Linked DNA regions of Homo sapiens: region 2 is linked to region 1. Evidence: promoter capture Hi-C in human tissues and cell types (Jung and others, 2019). All regions are on one chromosome and are shown on one strand. The core of a region is centred on a gene start or on the middle of the fragment in contact, and the rest is flanking DNA. Distances in the headings are between cores, read along the strand shown. Region 1 holds the start of FBXO47 (F-box protein 47). Region 2 has its middle 12 kb from the start of LINC02079.

What was found. The method cuts DNA at HindIII sites, captures the fragments that hold promoters and counts their contacts. A contact is called where the count stands out against the background at its distance.
Region 2: a contact is called between a fragment that was not itself captured here and the fragment with the promoter of FBXO47 in region 1, in 6 of the 25 tissues and cell types used here (IMR-90 fibroblasts, bladder, pancreas and 3 more).

Annotation. Positions count from the first base shown.
Region 1 is chr17:38,964,586-38,970,187 of GRCh38, reverse strand. It overlaps FBXO47 (F-box protein 47), which reads left to right and starts at 2,785. Exons shown (of 11, transcript NM_001008777.3): 1 at 2,785-2,959. The HindIII fragment of the contact is 17,690 bases long and covers 1-5,602 here.
Region 2 is chr17:39,035,858-39,041,459 of GRCh38, reverse strand. It overlaps the pseudogene LRRC37A11P. Among named protein-coding and RNA genes, the nearest start is that of LINC02079, 12 kb to the right of the region's middle. The HindIII fragment of the contact is 8,693 bases long and covers 1-5,602 here.

The DNA of each region.
Region 1 (5,602 bases), core at 1,536-4,035:
GGCAGAGGTGGGCAGATCACCTGAGGTTGGGAGTTCGAGACCAGCCTGACCAACATGGAGAAACCCCGTCTCTACTAAAAATACAAAATTAGCCAGGCATGGTGGCACATGCCTGTAATCCCACCTACTGGAGAGGCTGAGGCAGGAGAATCGCTTGAACCTGGGAGGCAGAAGTTGCAGTGAGCCGAGATCGCACCATTGCACTCCAGCCTGGGCAACAAGAGTGAAACTCCGTCAAAAAAAAAAAAAAAAAAAGAAGAAAGAAAGAAAAGAAAAGACAAAACTCCACTAGAAAAACTCCTCACTTGCATATCTCAGTAAATGGGATTAACTTCTACCCATTTATTGAAGTCAGAAACCTGGGAATTATTCCTGTCTCCTTCCTTTCCCTTCCTTCCACCCATATCCAATCCATTAGGTAAATTCAGTTACTTCTACCACCAAAATATATCTCAAACCCATCCCTCAGAGCCACCATTCTAGTCCTGCAACATCCTAACAGATCTTACCCTCCACTCTTAGCCTCATTTATTCTCCACATAAAAGCCAGAGCAATCTTTTAATGATGTAAATCAGATCATAGCACTCTCTGCTTAAAACTCTTCAAGGACTTCCCATGACACTTCCCATGACACTTTGAGTAAAAGCTAAATTCTCACCACTAAGGATCCTTGTTTCCATTATGTGCGTCTGGCCCACTGCCAACGGGATGATACTTGGTCAAGGACCTCTAATCAATGTTGGAGACAGGGGGAAAAAAAAGAATTGTCTGCAGCTGGGCACGGTAGCGCAAGCCTGTAATCCCAGCACTTTGGCAGGCTGAGGTGGGTGGATCACCTGAGGTCAGGAGTTCAAGACCAGCCTGGCCAACATGGTGAAACCCCATCTCTACTAAAAAATACAAAAAAATTAGCTGGGCATGGTGGTGGGTGCCTGTAATCCCAGCTACCTGGGAGGCTGAGGCAGGAGAATCACTTGAATCTGGGAGGTGGAGGTTGCAGTGAGCCAAGATCACACCACTGCACTCCAGCCCGGGAAACAGAGGCAGACTTCATCTCAAAAAAAAAAAAAAAAAAAAAAGAATTGGCTGCAAAAGGATACAAAGCCAGGGCTGGGCCCGGTGGCTCACACCTTTAATCCCAACACTTTGGGAGGCAGGCAGATCGCTTGAGCCTCGGAGTTTAAGACCAGCCTGGGCAACATAGCGAAACCCCATCTCTGCTAAAAATACAATGGTGGTGCCCACCTGTGGTCCCAGCTACTGGGTGGCTGAAGCAAGATAATCAATTCAACCCAGGAGGCAGAGGCTGCAGTGAGCCGAGATCGTGCCACTGAACTCCAGCCTGGGCGACTGAGCAAGACTCTGTCTCAAAAAAAAAAAAAAAAAAAAAAAAGGCCAGGAGTGGTGGCTCACACCTGTAATCCCAGCACTTTGCAGTGCTGAGGTACGCAGGTCACCTGAGGTCAGGAAAAAAAAAGATACAAAGCCAAATGGATGAATATATGTGACTATATAAAATAACAGCATGCCAACTAATCCTAAATTTCCACTCAGTCTTTATGTAGTTCCTTATATATTTTGTGTTGGGTATAATGTAGAATTGATCTACAAAAGTAGAATCTTTCCCCCATTCCCTCTTCCCTCAGCCCTTCTCCTGACTGGCTCCTTCTCCTCCATCAGTTCTCAAATCGTCATATCAAAGGGACCTTGAGTATCAGTCTATCTAAAGTAGCTCTCCGCCAACACACACACACCCCATCATTCTGTCTTATTTCCTCTGTCACGCTGCTCTCACCGGAACTGCTCTCAACATCTGTAGATGCTCTGTCTGTTCATTCTATCTTCCCCATTAGGCTAATAAACTCCATTAAAGCAGGAAACGTATCTGTCTTGTTCTCTATTCCATCCTTAGGGCCTACTCCTGTGCCCGGCCCAGAGCAGGCTTCAATAAATAGTTACAGAATGAATGAAGAAATGAATGAATGAGAATTTAATCTTCTAGCCAGGAAGGCCTAGCTAGAAAGATTTGTCTTGATTTCATCTTGAGAGGATGGAGACACACATCTTCCTTTGATTCCAGACAGATTTATTATTTATGTGTTTATTTAGAGACCGGGAGCGGGGTTATGGCTGGGGGTGGGGGTCTCCCTATGTTGCCCAGGCTGGTCTCAAACTCCTGGACTCAAGGGAGCCTCCCGCCTCGGCCTCCCAAAGTGTTGGGATTACAGGCGTGAGCCACCGCACCGGCAAGACAAATTTAAAAAGGAATGTCTGGAGGTTTTTTTCCACCAAAAGGTTTGATGAAACCCCTTGTAACTTGCCCTACTGGAGTCAGTGGGGGTGGGAGGAACTCAAAAATTGTCTCAAAACTAGGTGAAGGGAAAGGCAGTGGAGCAGAGACGTGGCTCGCCACGTTCAGGATCTTGGGCTACACCCTCCCCTTCCCCACACCGTAACGGCTCCAGCCCCTTCTTGTCTTCAGCTTGGAGCGAAGGGTGGCTGAGGCCTGAGTTTGGGCTCCAGGAACCTCGCCCTTGTTAGTTATTCATGAGACGGAGGGCACCATGGGAGCTGGCTCTCTTGCTATTCATAAAGCGGGGAGGCGGGAGGCGGGGGGGAACCTCCTTCCCGCTAGGGCTTCTGGGAAGATCTACAATATTCATGAGGGAGGCGGGCACTACGAGAGCTGAGGCTGCTTGCTATTCATGAGGGGGCGGGCCTCCTTCCCGCGGGGGCTCTTGGGAAGATTCTACAATATTCTAGAGGCCGCGGGGACGCCTGGTGGGTAGGGCTGCAGCTCCGGAGCCTACGGGAGTGTGACCCTCTCGCCTCCTGGCGGGAAGCTCTTGAGGAGATATTTTCTTTTCTAAACACTAAGAAATTTGAGGATGGTGGGGCAAAACGACTAACTCCCACTTTCCTGTGACTCTGTAGCCGGAAAAACTGTCAAAATCTGTGGTAAAAGAGGGTTTTTTTTCCCAGTATTTTATTGCGATAATTTCATCTTTCATGGACTGAAGGGAGCGAAACATGTACCCCGTGTGGTCTGATTCTCCTGTTGACCAGTTTGTCCTTTAGGCTTCCCTAGTTTGCGGCTTTGGAGATGTTTGGGGGCAGCTGCCCGACAGATGGGGTGGGGCCCTTACAAGAGTTTTATGTTAAAACAGACATCCCTGTGAATGTAGTTTTTATCTTAAAGGTGTGGGGGGCGGGGAGGTTCATCCAATTGAACCCTCAAAACCTTTCACGCGCGGTCAAAATTAGTGGGATAGAACAGGGGGCATGAAACATCATTTTATTATTATTATTTGGGGCTGTGATTCTTATTCGCTAGAGGGGTGAGCGGAAACCAGAAATAATTTAGGATTATACCTTTAGAATTTTCACAAAAGCTTGCTTTTTCCCTACGAAACGTCCAGCTCTGAGTGAGGAAAATAAGGAACTATAAGTGGAGACTTGAGTTTTAGAAGAATTTGGGCTTATCATTTTTAAATTTTTGTTTATATTTATTTTAAACATGTATGTAGTTCACAGTTGACACAGTGAAGTCCCCGCCTGGTGACTGACAGTCTTTGAAGAGCCCACGGGCCCAAGCCCCACTGTCCACATTTCTCAGAGAAACAGGAAGAAGCCAAGGCCGGATTTATGCTATTGTAATAAAAATGCTTTAAAACACCTACTGTGTTGGCCGGGTGCGGTGGCTCACGCCTGTAAATCCCAGCACTTTGGGAGGCCGGGGCAGGCGGATCACGAGGTCAGGAAATCGAGACCAGGCTGGCTAACACGGTGAAACCCCGTCTCTACTAAAAATACAGAAATTAGCTGGGCGTGGGGGCGGGCACCTGTAATCCCAGCTACTAGGGAGGCTGAGGCAGGAGAATCGCTTGAACCCGGGAGGCGGAGCTTGCAGTGAGCCGAGATCGCGCCACTGCACTCCAGCCCAGGAGACTGTGCGAAACTCCATCGCAAACAAACAAACAAAACGCCTACTGTGAAAAGTTAAGGTTACAAACAGCCTTATGGATTAAACAAATTAAGATTATTTTACTTGGTGGAATGACACATAGCCATTAAAATATGATTACTTGTAGAAGGTTATTAGCATGGAAAGAGAATTCATTGAAAAAAGCAGATTACAAAGTATTATATATAGTGATCCCTCTTTTTTGTTAAAAAGAAATATATGTATGTAAAAGTCTGAAATTATATAAACCAAAGTGTTTATAAGTGAACTTAATTTTTTTCTTCTTGTTTAGCTGTATTGTGTAAAGTTGTTATTTGTGTAATTATTTTTTTTTTTTTTTGAGGCAGATTCTTGCTCTGTCACCCAGGCTGGAGTGCAGTGGTGTGATCTCGGCTCACTGCAACCTCCGCCTCCCGGGTTCAAGCGATTCTCCTGCCTCAGCCTCCAGAGTAGCTGGGACTACAGTCGCGTGCCACCATGCCCGGCTAATTTTTTTTTTTTTTTTTTTTTTTTAGTAGAGAAGGGGTTTCACCGTGTTAGCCAGGATGGTCTCGATCTCCTGACCTCGTGATCCACCGGCCTCAGCCTCCCAAAGTGCTGGGATTAAGGCGTGAGTCACCATGCCCGGCCTATTTGTGTAATTTTAATGATAATTTTAAAATACCTCCTAATTTAAGTGTTCACTGAATACTGACCCCAATCGCTGTGGTATGGTTTCAAAGGAGGTTCAGAGTGTACTTTTCACTAAACACTAAATTTCTTTGTTATGTTTTCAAATGTGTAACCAATTTTAAATTGATGTAAGTTGATATGTAACATTTCAAGATGTATAAGTAACAATGTTACTTTAGCAATTTGTAGAAAGGAGAAAATGCATTTTGGCCAGATACAATTATATATCTTTGATGAAAATGTCTTAGTTGTTACTTCAGAAACAAGGAGCCTTCGATTGGAGTTGTAATTATGCGTATATGTATATGTATACACAAAAGACATTGTTTTCTGAATTAGAACAATAGAGTGACACAAAGTCGCTGTGTGGTACACATGTTTAAATAATTATTTAGTGTAATGGGCGGGCGTGGTGGCTTTCGCCTGTAATCCCAGCACTTTGGGAGGCTGAGGCTGGTGGCTCACCTGAGGTCAGCAGTTCCAGACCAGCCTGACCAACATGGTGAAACCCCGTCTCTACTAAAAATACAGAAATTAGCTGAGTGTGGTAGCACACGCCTGTAATCCCAGCTACTAGTGGTGGCACACGCCTGTAATCCCAGCTACTTGGGAGGCTGAGGCAGGAGAATCACTTGAACCTGGGAGGGGGAGGTTGCAGTGAGCTGAGATCGCGTCATGCCACTGCACTCCAGCCCGGGCAGTAGAGCGATAATCTGTCTAAAAAAAAAATTATTTAGTGTAAGTAAATAATCAGTGATTTTAATAAGTTGCATTTAATGAGTTTAAGAAATATTTGTCTTTGAAATCAAGATGCGTAGGCCCTTTCTAAGATTCATCAGTGACTATTATTATTATTGTTATTTTTTGTTTGTTTGTTTGTTTGTTTTTCGAGACCAAGTCTCACTGTGTTGCCCCAGGCTGGAGTGCAATGACATGATCTCAGCTCACTGCAGCCTCCGCCTCCC
Region 2 (5,602 bases), core at 2,176-4,675, 71 kb before region 1:
ACATTCAAAGCCCTAGAAGATCTGGCTCCAATTTCCTACTCTCCCTCCTTGTACTCTACAGGTACTCATGGTATTCCTCAAATACTTTCCTGTGATTTGCCCCTCTCCCATTTTCCTTTTGCAAGTTTAGAATCTTTTCCCCAACATGTTTGTCTGATGTGACGCAGCAGCCCTTCAAAGTCCTATTCAAATGGCATTGTTCTAGTAACATCTTCATGGGTCCAAATTGAAGTCAATCTCCTCTCTTCTATGCTCCAGAAACAATGTATCCCTCCTAGTGCCCACATCCATTTCTTCTTTTGAATGTACTTATTTTTCATCCCATTTCTTCTGAGCATAAACTCCTTGAAAGCATGGACTAGCTCTTGCTCATCTGCGTTGCCCACCATGTTTAAAACTGACACATGGAAATAAAATGAACTCACATATTTATAAAATAAATGAATAGCTGGGGCAGTGAGTAGAAGGAAAATGACTATTTTAAAGGAAATATAGTTTTATTACTTCATGGCCTCTGTAGCGCTTTGGCATCCACCTGAGGGTCTTTACACCCACTTTCCTTAAGCCTTCTACATTTGAAAGAATCTGTCTGCAAAAAAGCATCACTAATGAGCTTAATGAGGATTAATGACATACACACCTCTAAACCATGGGCAAAGGATAAAAATCCAGCTTTCATAGCAATGAACATAGTATCTTCTTATCTCTAAACAGACAGAAATACTATGCAGGTATCCCTTCCTTGGTAACAGGGCTGAGGACATAGTTATTTTGTAATTAGTGAAGAGTTAGGGGCATTTCTGATATGCTTACTTACTATAAACACTCTAGCTATACCACTTAACCATCATTTTAAACATCTGTTTTAATATAACAATTCCTGAAATGAAATCCTTAATACCAGGCTATTCTTTTGGTAGCTTAATATTCTTGATAATATTATTTATATAATTCAGCTGCTTATTATTTAATATATAAATGTTAATTTAATTTAGATTAAATTATCAAAAAATTCTGGATTAATGATATTCAAATTAATGTAGGTAGTCTATATTTTCTTCTCCTTTAGGCAACAATCTGAAGTTAACTTTAATTCCTTTCATTCTACTAAAGCAACTTTTTCAAATCTTTCTTTTCTCTTTTTTTTTTGACAGAGTCTTGCTCTGTCGCCTAGGCTGGAGTGCAGTGGCATGATCCTGCAACCTCCGCCTCCCGGGTTCAAGAGATTCTCCTGCCTCAGCCTCCCGAGTAGCTGGGATTACAGGCGTCTGCCACCATGCCTGGCTAATTTTTGTATTTTTAGTAGAGACAGGGTTTCACCATGTTGGCCAGGCTGGTCTCAAACTCCTGACCTCAGGTGATCCTCCCACCTCGACCTCCCAAAGTGCTGAAATTACAGGCGTGAGCCACCGTGCCCGGACCCAAATCTTTTTTGGGAAGGTCAGTTGGTAAATATTTTAGGCTTTGTGGGCCGCATGTGGTCTTTGTTGCATATTTCTCTTTGTTTCTTTTCTTTTTCTTTCCCAGTCCTTTAAAAGTGTAAAAACCATTCTTAACTTAATGGGCTATTTAAAAACAGACTGTAGATTAGATTTGATCTATTGGTTGTAGACTGAATATAGGAAGATGAGATGTGAACACTTTTTATAAAACAAGGTTCATATGGGTGTCAATCACTGCTCAGATCTTATTACCATGTGAAATTCTTTTCTGTCTGTATTCTGTCTATATAATTAAAAAATTGAAAATGCATAGAAGGTATTAATGCTAGAGATGGGCTGAGACCCTATACAAACTTACAGAATTGCAGAATTGTATTGCTGAAAGAAATCTTAGAGATTATCTAATTTGAACCCCTATATTCATTTTACAGATAATATGACTAAAAACTAATAAATATGATTAACTAACTAACTTACAAATACTGGAGGGATAGCAGGCCCTTCAAATGAATCCCTATGTAATTTAGTCAAATAATTTTCATTGAGAATTCTGGAAAATGAAAAAGTTATTTTCTAGATCAAAATGCAAACTACAACTATTTGCTACACAGGACTAACTCCTACATGTGGAGGAAATCTGGGTCATGATAATTTCAAGATGGTGGTATCTGCTCTGCTTTCATTAAAAGCTTTTCTTACATTTTCCTTTTTGTGTCCATCTGTCTCCACCACCACCACCACCACCACCACATACACACACACACACACACACACACACACACACACACACACACAAGCACACCCCTACCCACTCTTCCCACCAAATTGTATATTTAATGCCTCCTCTCTAGATCACAAAGTCCCTGTTAGAATCCAACTCTGGGTGGCACCAAGATCAGCAGAACTTCCATTTCCTCCTCTCTTTTCCCAAACCTTGTTATAAAAGCCCCACATGGAACTATGTCAGGGCTGCAAGTGAAGCCATTTGACTTTTTTCTCCCATTAAAAATATTTGAGAACTACAATGTGCATAAAGTGCACATAACATAAATGTTGTTTTTATTTTATTTTATTATTTCTGAGACAGGGTCTCACTCTGTTGTCCAGACTAGTCTCAAACTCCTGGGCTCAAGTGATCCCCCTGTCTCAGCCTCCCAAAGTGTTGCAATTACAGATGTGAGCCACTGCATCTGGCCAAATATTCAGTTTAATAATTATAAAGCAGATACCCATATAATATCATTACGAAAGATCATTACTAGCATCCCAGAAGCCCCAGGTGTGCCCCTTTCCAATCACAACCCCCTCTCTAACCCTTATAGATATCCACTATCCTGACTTTCGTAATAATTTTCTTGTTTTTAAAATGTAGCTCTGGCCTGACACAGTGGCTCACGCCTGTAATCCCAGCACTTTGGGAGGCCAAGGCGGGTGAATCACCTGAGGTCAGGAGTTCAAGACCAGTCTGGCCAACATGGTGAAACCCCATCTCTACTAAAAATACAAAAATTGGCTGGGCATGGTGGTGGGCGCCTATAATTCCAGCTACTTGGGAGGCTGAGATGGGAGAATTGCTTGAACCCAGGAGGCAGCGATTACTGTGAGCCGAGTTTACGCCACTGTCCTCCAGGCTGGGCGACAAGAACAAAACTGCATCTCAAAAAATAAAATAAAATAAAATAAAATAAAATAAAATAAAATAAAATAAAATAAAATAGTAAAGTAAAATGTAGTTCTGGCTGGGCACAGTGGCTCACACTTGTAATCACAGCACTTTGGGAAGCCAAGGTAGGAGGATTGCTTGAGCCCAGAAGTTCGAGACCAGTCTGAGCAATACAGCAGGACCTCATCTCTAGACAAATTTTAAAATTAGCTGGGCATGTTGGTGCACACCTGTAGTCCTAGCTACTGGAGAGGCTCAGATGGGAGGATCGCTTGAGCATGGAAGGTCCAGGCTGCAGTGAGCTGCATTTGCACCACTGCAGACCCTGTCTCAAAAATAAATAAAATAAAATAAAATAAAATAAAATAAAATAAAATAAAATGTCGTTTTACCTATTATATGTCAGTCATAAACAACATATTTTAGTTTTGCCTACTTGAACATTATATAAATGAAATCATATTACACATATTATTTTCTGTATCACTTCTTTCACTCAATAATCTGTTTGGACATTTAAGATGTATGTTGCTGAGATTGATTCATTTCAAGGCCTGTGTTGTGCTTCCAATAAGGTAGTCACTAGCTATATTTGGCTACTGTTAGTGACTAGTGTGACTGAGGAACTGAATCTTTAATATATTCATTTTAATTATTTTTAAATTTAAAAGCTGATACTCAATGTAGTCATTAGAAAATTTATGTTTGCAACAACTTGGGTATATGATGCTACTTTTTCAACTGCAAATTTTACAAAATCTAAATATAGACTAAGGTGTTTTGTTTGTTTGTTTGTTTTGAGACAAGGTTTCACTCTGTTGCCCAGGCTAGAGAGCAGTAGCACAATCACTGCGTACTGCAGCCTCGACCTCCCAGGCTCAAGTGATCCTCCCACCTCTGCCTCCCTAGTAGCTGGGACTATAAGCACACACCATCATGCCTGGCTAATATTTTTAATTTTTTGTAGAGATGTGGTTTCATTGTGTTGCCAGGCTAGTCTTGAACCACTGGGTTCAAGTGATCCTCCTGCCTATGCCTCCCAAAATGCTGGGATTACAGGCATGAGCTACCTAACATCCAGCCAGGTTAAGTATTTTTATTATTATTATTTACTTGTCTCCCTAGACTGCTGAGCAGAACAGATTAAGGTTTTTTTTTTTATAAAAATTTAGCAACCAAATTAAGACTTCGAAGACTTAGTATGGAAAAAAGAATGTAAACTCCCCAATTAATTTTTATACTAACAACATGTAGAAATGATACCCCTTTGGATATTTTGAAGACTTAGTATGAAAATAGAATATCTCATTAATAACATATATAATGACTGCATGTTGAAATGAAAATATTTTGGATATAATATATTAACATGTTTCACCTGTTTCTTTTTTAGTTTTATTTTTTAAGTGACTACCAGAAAAGTTAATATTATGTATGTGGCTTGCATTATGTTTCTAATGAATAATAGAAGTATTAATAATCCTTCCATTCAGTATTACACACACATAATACTTTTAATAAGTATTAATAATACTTCTATTACTATATAAAGTATTAACATACTTCTATTATTATATAATAGAATAATAGAGTATTCCATTATATGATTCTACTGCAATATATTGATTCATCTACTGGGTATGGATACTGAGATATTTCTAGTTTTTAGTTATTACAAAGAATGCTGCTTTGAACATTCTTATACTTGTATCCTGATAGTACTTTTGCCTGAGTTTCTCTAGGATATAATAAGGGCACAAAATTGTTTTCCTAAGAAGTGGTATTTCAAGTGGCAGATTGAAAACATGCCAAGTCTCTACCCATCCAACCTCTAGCAAATCTCTAAAAATCATAGAACAGAAATAATTTAAAAATCCACAAACTTAGCTCAAAATGTGGAAGCATCTCTACAAATGATCCCCTGTCAGAAATGCCCAGGAACTACCTACAAGTTATTGGTTGGGACAGTGGAGTGGGAGAAGCCAGAGGCACATCAACCACATATCTTTCTTCCTTGGGCCAGGCAGCAAAGAGTGTCTTCCTCCAGGCAGGAACAATTGGTGTTAGAAAGGGGGCAGGGTCCTGGAGCCCTGGAGGAAGGGTGTACACTCCCTTACTAGCCATCTCCCACACCTTCTTGTTATCAGGAGACTCCATCTGGAACACAAGCCGCAGAATCCCATCTCTCCTCTAGAGCTAGAAAACAGGATTGTCTGGTTCTAGCATTTTTTTTTCTTACCAATAAGATATCACACTAAGGGTGAGGGAAACTACTTTAAAGTGGTCATAATTCCTCTTCTTAGATGACTATGATTGTCATGTGTTTTATTTTTAATTTAGAGCTCGTGTATAACTTGTCTATGTAAGTTGAACTAATAATGTGACACACAAACTGTTGTAAAAAATGCCAGTTACTGCCCGGGGGTGGCGGCTAACGTCTATAATCCCAGCACTTTGGGAGGCCGAGGTGGGCGGATCACCTCAGGTCAGGAGTTCA